2 separate regions of the Homo sapiens genome follow, and region 2 is linked to region 1. The links are contacts of gene promoters, found by promoter capture Hi-C in blood cells and fetal thymus (Javierre and others, 2016). All regions are on one chromosome and are shown on one strand. Each heading gives the region's core, a stretch centred on a gene start or on the middle of the fragment in contact. The rest is flanking DNA. Distances are from core to core; before and after follow the strand shown. Region 1 holds the start of FEM1B (fem-1 homolog B). Region 2 overlaps AFG2B (AAA ATPase AFG2B).

What was found. The method cuts DNA at HindIII sites, captures the fragments that hold promoters and counts their contacts. A CHiCAGO score of 5 or more calls a contact.
Region 2: a contact is called between a fragment that was not itself captured here and the fragment with the promoter of FEM1B in region 1, in 2 of 17 cell types (total CD4 T cells and naive CD4 T cells). The highest score is 5.9, in total CD4 T cells.

The regions. Positions count from the first base shown.
Region 1 is chr15:68,275,500-68,279,477 of GRCh38, reverse strand. It overlaps FEM1B (fem-1 homolog B), which reads right to left and starts at 1,733. Exons shown (of 2, transcript NM_015322.5): 1 at 813-1,733. The coding sequence starts at 1,060. RefSeq lists enhancers at 894-1,093, 836-1,737 and a silencer at 1,124-1,453. The HindIII fragment of the contact is 2,784 bases long and covers 137-2,920 here.
Region 2 is chr15:45,403,051-45,406,798 of GRCh38, reverse strand. It overlaps AFG2B (AAA ATPase AFG2B), which reads right to left. Exons shown (of 8, transcript NM_024063.3): 1 at 3,281-3,748; 2 at 1,294-1,479. Among named protein-coding and RNA genes, the nearest start is that of AFG2B, 2.6 kb to the right of the region's middle. RefSeq lists a silencer at 3,631-3,748. The HindIII fragment of the contact is 2,345 bases long and covers 348-2,692 here.

The DNA of each region.
Region 1 (3,978 bases), core at 484-2,983:
AAGAGGATAATGTCAAACCTGACAATTCTGGTCAAATACCCAAAAATTCGTACAATTAAACTCAAAGGGCAAATCTTAGGCATAACAATGTGCATTTTTAAACTTCCCACCTCAACTAACAGTAAATGATCAAGCTTCCCCACAACATCACGGGATAAGATGTAATTTAAGAATGGCATCATCTCCCACATCAGGTCCAATGCCATCTTAGTAGCCAATATATCTACACCGAGCAACGTGGAGGAATCAGAATCATGTCTTGAGATGTCTGGCTGCGTGACAATCCCTCATGATGCTGCAGCTGCTGCTGGTTCTAGGTGCTTATTTTGACATTAAAGCCCAGCAGCCCACTGAAGGTTTTACGGAACCACTCACTTGAAGGGAGTAAAAATGGATGCCCAAATAACTCTTTCGGAGTTCTTCAATGTTAACCGCTGACCTCCTTAATTTCTGATCAGTTACATCACCAGTTCCACTAAAAGTAAAACCTGGAAAGGCAGCCACCTCCTCCAAATGGCTTGTTCACAGACTATCTAGTAGAGAAGACGACTATTAGATTTCAAGGCCGAGGGTGTGGTTATCTTCCCACAGAGGGAATGAGGGGTAGGGGCTGATGAGGACGGGCAGCAAAACATGGGATGGATTATTAGCCCTGGAAGATGAAGTGGGCATTAGTGGGGCAGGAGGTGGTACAAAAAGGGGAGAAGTGAGTACCTACATGAAGAGAGGGTAAGAGAGGGTGAGGGAGGGGAGGGCCCGTGAATTAACGAGTCCGCGCGCGTCGGAGAGAGGCTGGCTTGGGATGTACCTACCCGTCGAAGCGGACGGTGCCAGTCTGCTGAGTCTGCACCCGGTAATGTTCTAAGAGCAAGCGTACCACCTTTGCGTGTCCATTGCGGGCTGCGATGATGAGGGGCGTGGAGCGCTGCCCTCCCTGCTGGCTGACATAGCCAAGCAGATAGCGGATGTCGCTTTCAGACCGGTTGAGAAGCAAGGCGGCCAGAGTCAGCACCTTGCCCTCGCTGGCCGCCTTGTATACATAGCCAGCCAGGCCCTCCATGGCCGCCGCCAACTCCAACACCCGTTTGGTCGCCACCGCTGCAGCTGCCGTGCGCCCCCGGAGGCCGCGTTCGCCAGCGCTTTAAACCTGGGCCCTCACAGCCCATTCAACAGGGCGCCGTCGCCGCCGCCGCGCCCAGGCAGCAGTGCGGCCCAGGGAAGGCGGAGACGCAGAGGAGGCCGAGTGCCGCGAAGGGCACGTCCGCGACCCAGCCCGCGCAGGGAGGAAGGCGGTCAGGGCCGCCCGCCAGGTCCCAGGCGCCGGCCCTGGACCGAGGGGATCTCCATGGCGGACGCCGCCCCGGGCCTCAGGCCGGACCCCTCCTTCCTGCGGGATGCGACAGGCGCGTGCCCGAGCTACGGGTCGCCGGCCGGGTCCCGAGAGGACCTCGCGCACCCCGGATGGCGAAAGATGGGCGCGTCTCTCCTGACCCGGCCCACCCGGCCTAAGGCCTAACACTGCCTCCTCCTGCGCTTTCCGCCCTTCGCCGTCCCTGACTGGAGGAAACCTGCAGGCTCTCGTCCGCCGAGCTCAGAAGTGCCAGGCGCTGCCAACGGCCCCGGAGATCCTCGCGTAGGGGCCCCCGGGGCGATGCGGAACGCTCCCGCAAGAGCGGCGCCGGAACTTGGGCGGGGAGGAAGACGAGCTTTCGCAGACAGGGCCGGGAGGAGAGGGCGGGAGCGGGAGGGACGCTAAGTGGGGTGTCTCCGCCTAAGCCGACCGGCGGGCACACGCGGGCCCGGTAGAGAAAGGTTCTGCTGCGCGTAGTTGGCCCATCCCGTTTGGGCCTGGATGTCCTCAATGTCCTTGACTCCTGGAACCTCCTCCTGGCCCCTAAACGGCCCTGAGGGTCTCCAGCCAGGGAGTGGGGGCGGAGTGAGGGCGCTAAGCTGATGGGCTAAGGAGACCACCCTATTTTACTATAGACGGTGCGGGTCCTGCTTCTGCCCCTGAGCCGGGGTTAGGGAAGGGGTTGCGCGTACTCGGAGGGTCCATTTCAGGAAAAGGGCGGCGTTTCTGAGTTCCCGAAATGTGGGAGGGCTTGAGAGCCACAACACCAGGCTCTGAGAAGGGACTGGAAGTACGGCCTGACTTTCCCGGAGAAAGGGGTTAAGTGTGAGAGAAAGATGGGAGCGAAGGGGAGCTGCGCTCGCGGTGGAAGGAGCGAGGTATCCTGGGAAGGAAAGCGAGTCCCGCGTTCAGACAGAGCAGGAATCTCATCCTGAGCCGGCAGAACCTCCGTTTTCTCACAGACATCACAAGATTGTTGTTAGGATTTGAAACGATCGTTTATCCAATGAATATTAGAGGTCGACTACGTGCCAGGCTCTGCTTAGCACTAGGGATTCAGTAATGGAACAAATAAGTCAACAAATGATAGACAAGATCAGTTGAACTGGTATCATTACCATTTGCTCTGAAGCAAATGAAATAGAATGATGGGGGCACTCATTTAGTTTGGGTGATCAGACAAGACCTCTATGACAAGTGACAAGAACAGACGGTATTCTAGGCAAAGGGGACAGCTAATATAAAAGTCCTGAGGAGGGAACAGTCTGGTGAGCTCGGAAACAGAAAGGTCAGTGTGGCTGCAGCAGAGTGGGCCACAGTAAGAATGATAGATGAAGTCAGAGGATGCAACACACGTTAGGGCCTAATAACCCATAGCAAAGGGTTTAAGTCTACTCTGTGATGGGGGCATTTGAAGGGTTTTAAAGAGGGAAGTGACAAGATGCTATTTGTGTTTTTTAAAAAGATCACTCTGGCTGCTGTATGGAGAATAAACTCTGGAAGGCAAGAGTAGATAGGGGGACAGGCCTTGGATTAGGATGGTAGGAGTGAATGGTAGGTGATGAAGCTTCTGGGACAGTCTCAAAAAACTCAATATGAAAGTGACTTCCTCCCTCTTCCTCCCTTCCCCAAAGGACAAAATTTACCATAGAGAAAGAACAAATGCATTTATGTGGCTCCAAGGGACTGGGCTCGGCTCAACAAGTTCACATACATTATTTTATTTGAACCCCACCATTCCAATTCTAGGAGGTAAAGGCCTCACTTCCATTGCAGCTATTGGTGGAGGTGTGGGTCACTTCTCAAATTCTCTCCATTCTACAGCTCAGCTTTACCCACTTATTGCAGATCCCTACAGAAACACGAGTTATTTTTCTCCTTACCATAAACAAAAACAGCATTGGCAATAAGGGCTGAAGGTAAGATTCTACTGGTAGCGTCTCTGAAATAGCTGATAGAGAAGTGGGGGAAGCTGGCTGGTTTATTTGGGGACTTCAGGGTCATGAAAAAACCCAGTGTTTGACAGGGACCCAGGCTTTTTGGTCTCGGATTCACACATTCAGATGTGTGATGACTTCCTTTTCTGGCTCCATACGGCAAGCATGCACCTCATCTACCATCTGTCTCCTCTCTGCCTTTCTATCTCTCTCTGTCTCTCCATATCTCTAACTCCGTCTCCCTACCACCCTCCCTCTCCTCTGCCAACACACTTTGATTACCTGGGCACAAGCTGACCTGGAGGAGTGCCTGGCTCTTTAGAAAAACCATCTCCTCATAGCCTTTTACCCTATTATGTTCCTGAATCATTCTACATTCTATTCCGAACCAACTTTCTGAAGAAGGTGATGTAAAAAAGTCCAGACACAGGCCCCTTCTTCCAGTTTTGTTTTCTAAGGGAGACCTGATTCATCCAGACTCATTGCTGAATAAGAGACTCCCTTCTTCCTCGTGCCCTCTCTACCTCAGTTTGGTGGTATAACTGGATGGGTACTACAAGGGGTGACTGCTCCAAGGGTCAAGCTAGAGAGGGGCTCAGAACTTGCATTGTGTGGCCTCCATCCCAAGATGGGAATACCTCTTTGCTCCAGCAGCCCAAAGTCAGGAGGTTTGGGCTGCTGTTTTCTTCT
Region 2 (3,748 bases), core at 271-2,770, about 23 Mb after region 1:
GGTATAAATTATTTAGGTAAAAAGGTTTTTCAAAATTTAGGATAATAAATCATTCTTTTGCAGTTTAAGATGAAAAGACAATTTTGATGTTACAAATGAGATTGAAAACTCTGTTTCAGAATCCTTAGCCTGCTGAAATCAGTTTTTTCCTGAATGGGTTTAAGGATTCAGGACTATTTATTATATACAAAATACTGGATTTTACAACCAACAAAGTTGAAAAGTATTATATTTAATCTAATATCTTAAATATTGTTAGGAAATAGTCATGAATTACAGACCTGCAGATCAAGGACAAATTTAAATACAATTCCAAGTGCCCAATCTTCTCCTAGGTTAGAAAAGCTTATTTCTCCCACTAGATACTTATTAATAACAAAGGGAAAAACGGTATCTTGACAATGGAGAAATCTCACAGACACCACCTTAACCAAGAAATCAAAGTTAACTTCACCAGTGATAGAACAGAAACATATCATGTGCTGCCTAACAGATGCAATGAGAAAGACACAGGATCATTTCTATTATATTCCTGCCCAAAATGCAAAACCTGAATTGAATCATGAAGAAACATTAGTCAAACCCAAACTGACGAATATTCCACAGAATAACTGACTCTTAAAAAGTTATGTTTTCATAGAAGAAAGCCTGAAGTATGATTCTAGATTAAGGCCTATTTAGGTTAAGTACAAGTATTATGTCTGCGTTAATTTTCTCAGCTTGATCATCATACTGTGGTTAAGGTCCTTGTTTTTCAGAAATATACACTTACGTTTTCGCGGGTAAAGGGGCATCATGGATGTAGTATATGCTCAAATATTTCATTATATATATGTATATATATAAGGAAATACACATGAAGAGAGAATGATAAAGCAAATGTGGCAAATGTTACATTTGGAGAATCTAGGAGAAGGGTATATGGAAACTCTTTGTACTATTTTTGTAACTTCTAAGTCTGAAATTGCCTCAAAATAAAAAAATTCAAATTAAAAAAACTCTTTGATTCTTCTGGGGCCACACTATTTCTTGGCTGCTCTGGGCTTCAGCACTAGGGAGTTACTATAAGAGTAGGGAACAAATTCACTCAGTAGACCCAGAGGACTCAGCCCTTTATCCCCACCCTCAATCATATACTATTTATATAGAGTTGAGATGTAAAATGTATAAGCAACAGCTGTGGAAGCTATCAAATGTTCTAAGGAAAATGTACTCACCGCTTTTTTTTAACCCCCAAATTAATCTGTTACAATAATAGATTAACATAGATGTTCATAAATTAACACTTCTTACCTTCTCACTATGAAGGAGGGCATGCATGGCAGCCTCCCTACAGAGTGCTGTCAGGTCGGCACCAACATAGCCAACTGTCATTTCTGCAAGAAGGCCCAAATCAACATGACTGGAGATGGGCATCTTCGAGGTAATCACTTGCAGAATTTCCTTTCTTTGTTTAAGTGTGGGAGTCCCAATGACCACCTATATGCAAAGCAAAACAAAAAAAAGAAGAAGAAGTATATAGTTTAAAATATATTATTTTTAAAGTTGATCTCATGGATGGAGGTAGACAGCAGAATGATAGCAACCAGACACTGGGAAGGGTTGGGGGTGAGGGGATGAAGACAGGTTGGCTCATGGGTACAAACATACAGTTAGGTAGAAGGAATATGTGTAATGTTTGATAGTGTAGTAGGGTGACTATAGTTAACAATAATTTCTCGTATATTTCAAAATAGCTACTAGAGAGAATCTGAAATATTCCCAACACTCAGATAAGAAATGATAAATGTTTGAGGTGATGGATATCCTAAGCACCCTGATTTGATAATTACAAATTGTATGCATGTACCAAAATATCACATGTACCCCAAAACATGCACAATTATGTATCAATAAAAATAGATCAATTAAAAAAGAATTACTTCCAAAAAAATTTTATATATGTGTGTGTATACATATATATATTTTTTTTTTCTTTTTTTTTTTTTTTTGAGACACAGTTTCACTCTGCTGCCCAGTCTGGAGTGCAGCGGGCACCATCTCAGCTCACTGCAACCTCCACCTCCTGGTTCAAGTGATTCTGGTGCCTCAGCCTCCAGAGTAGCTAGAACTACAGGCATGTGCCACCATGCCCGGCTTATTTTTTGTATTTTTAGCAGAGACGGGGTTTCACCATCTTGGCCAGGCTGGTCTCGAACTCCTGACCTCAGGTGATCCACCCACCTCAGCCTCCCAAAGTATTGAGATTGCAGGCGTGAGCCACCGCGCCCGGCCAAAATAATAATATGTTTTTTATCCTGACAAACATGTACGACAATTTAGTGAACCACTTTGGAACTAGTACCGTGCACTTTACGTATACTTTAGATTCTGAATATACGAAAATCCTAATATTCCAGAGGAGTAACACTGGCTAGAAAGTTGCACAATGAAAATTCTATGTCATTTAACAAGTTTTTGTTATTTTTAAGAACACACAAAGTTCTAGAAGCCAGGTATAGATAGCTAGGTCCCTGCCCTTAAGGACACAGGTACTAGATAGTGCAAGGAAGAAATCCACTCAAGTCCTGAACTAACTGAGCTAAAAGTGTGTAATTATCATTTCTCTTTTGAATCCTATCACAAAATAGAAATATCAGTCACTAAATTTCAAACTGTTCTTTAGAATTCAAGTCAATTTAGGACCAAAGCTTAAAATAGGACAGCTCTGAATATTCAACCTCCCTGACAACTCAGGGAGCAGTTGTGGGTACCTCCTCAATTGTGGAATAGGATGCTGGTGTTATGACAAGGAATGAATAAATCCAGAAGAGTTAATGCCTGCTTCCATTTAGTTCTTCCCCACCTTCTCCCTTTTTATTTCAACACACTTACTTCTTGAGGCTATCCTTCTTTAAATTCTCATTCCAAAAAATGAGTTTAACACGCTTGTAGGTGACCAAAATTCTCTTAAGAATTAACATTACTGATTATAGGACCTGCACAACAAAATTAATCTGTAATGGACACCTCGCTTCCCAAAACAATTAGACTCTGGGGAAACAGGTCCTGACTCTCAGATCCTGACTCACAGGTCCTGACAATTTGACTCTGGGGAAATACAGGTCCTGACTCACAGATCATATATCGGCAGAGAACGTGTTCTCTGCATTGCAAAGAGCCCCAACTCCAACCTCACCGATGCTCAAACCTAAGAGGCAAACGCCTCCGGGGCAGCCAAATGGCGCCAGAAGCGGCCGAGGTTCCACCGACAGTGGGCAAACCCGCCAAGCCCATTCACCTCTCGGTCAAATCTCCCGGGCCTACGCAGCGCTGGGTCTAGAGCGTCCGGCCGGTTAGTGGCTCCCACAACCACGACCTCGCGGTCCCCACTGGCGCCGTCCAGCAGCGTCAACACCTGGGCCACTACGCGGCTCTCGGGTGCTCGACTGCCCCGCTGGGGACACAAGGCGTCCATCTCGTCCAGGAAGAGGAGGCTGGGTCCGCGGCTGGCCAGTTCCCGGGCGCGCTGGAAGACCCGCCGCACGTTCTCCTCGGTCTCCCCAGGCCGGGAACCCTGCAGCGCCGGGGCGCTGACTGCCAGCAGCTCCGCGCCCGCCTCGCGCGCCACGGCCCGCACCAGCTGGGTCTTGCCCACTCCGGGGGGCCCCGCCAGGAGCACCCCGCGAGGCACCGCTAAGCCCAGCGCGGTCAGGGCGCGCGGGTAGCGGAGCGGGAGGCGGAGGAGCTCCCGCAGCGAGTCGGCCGC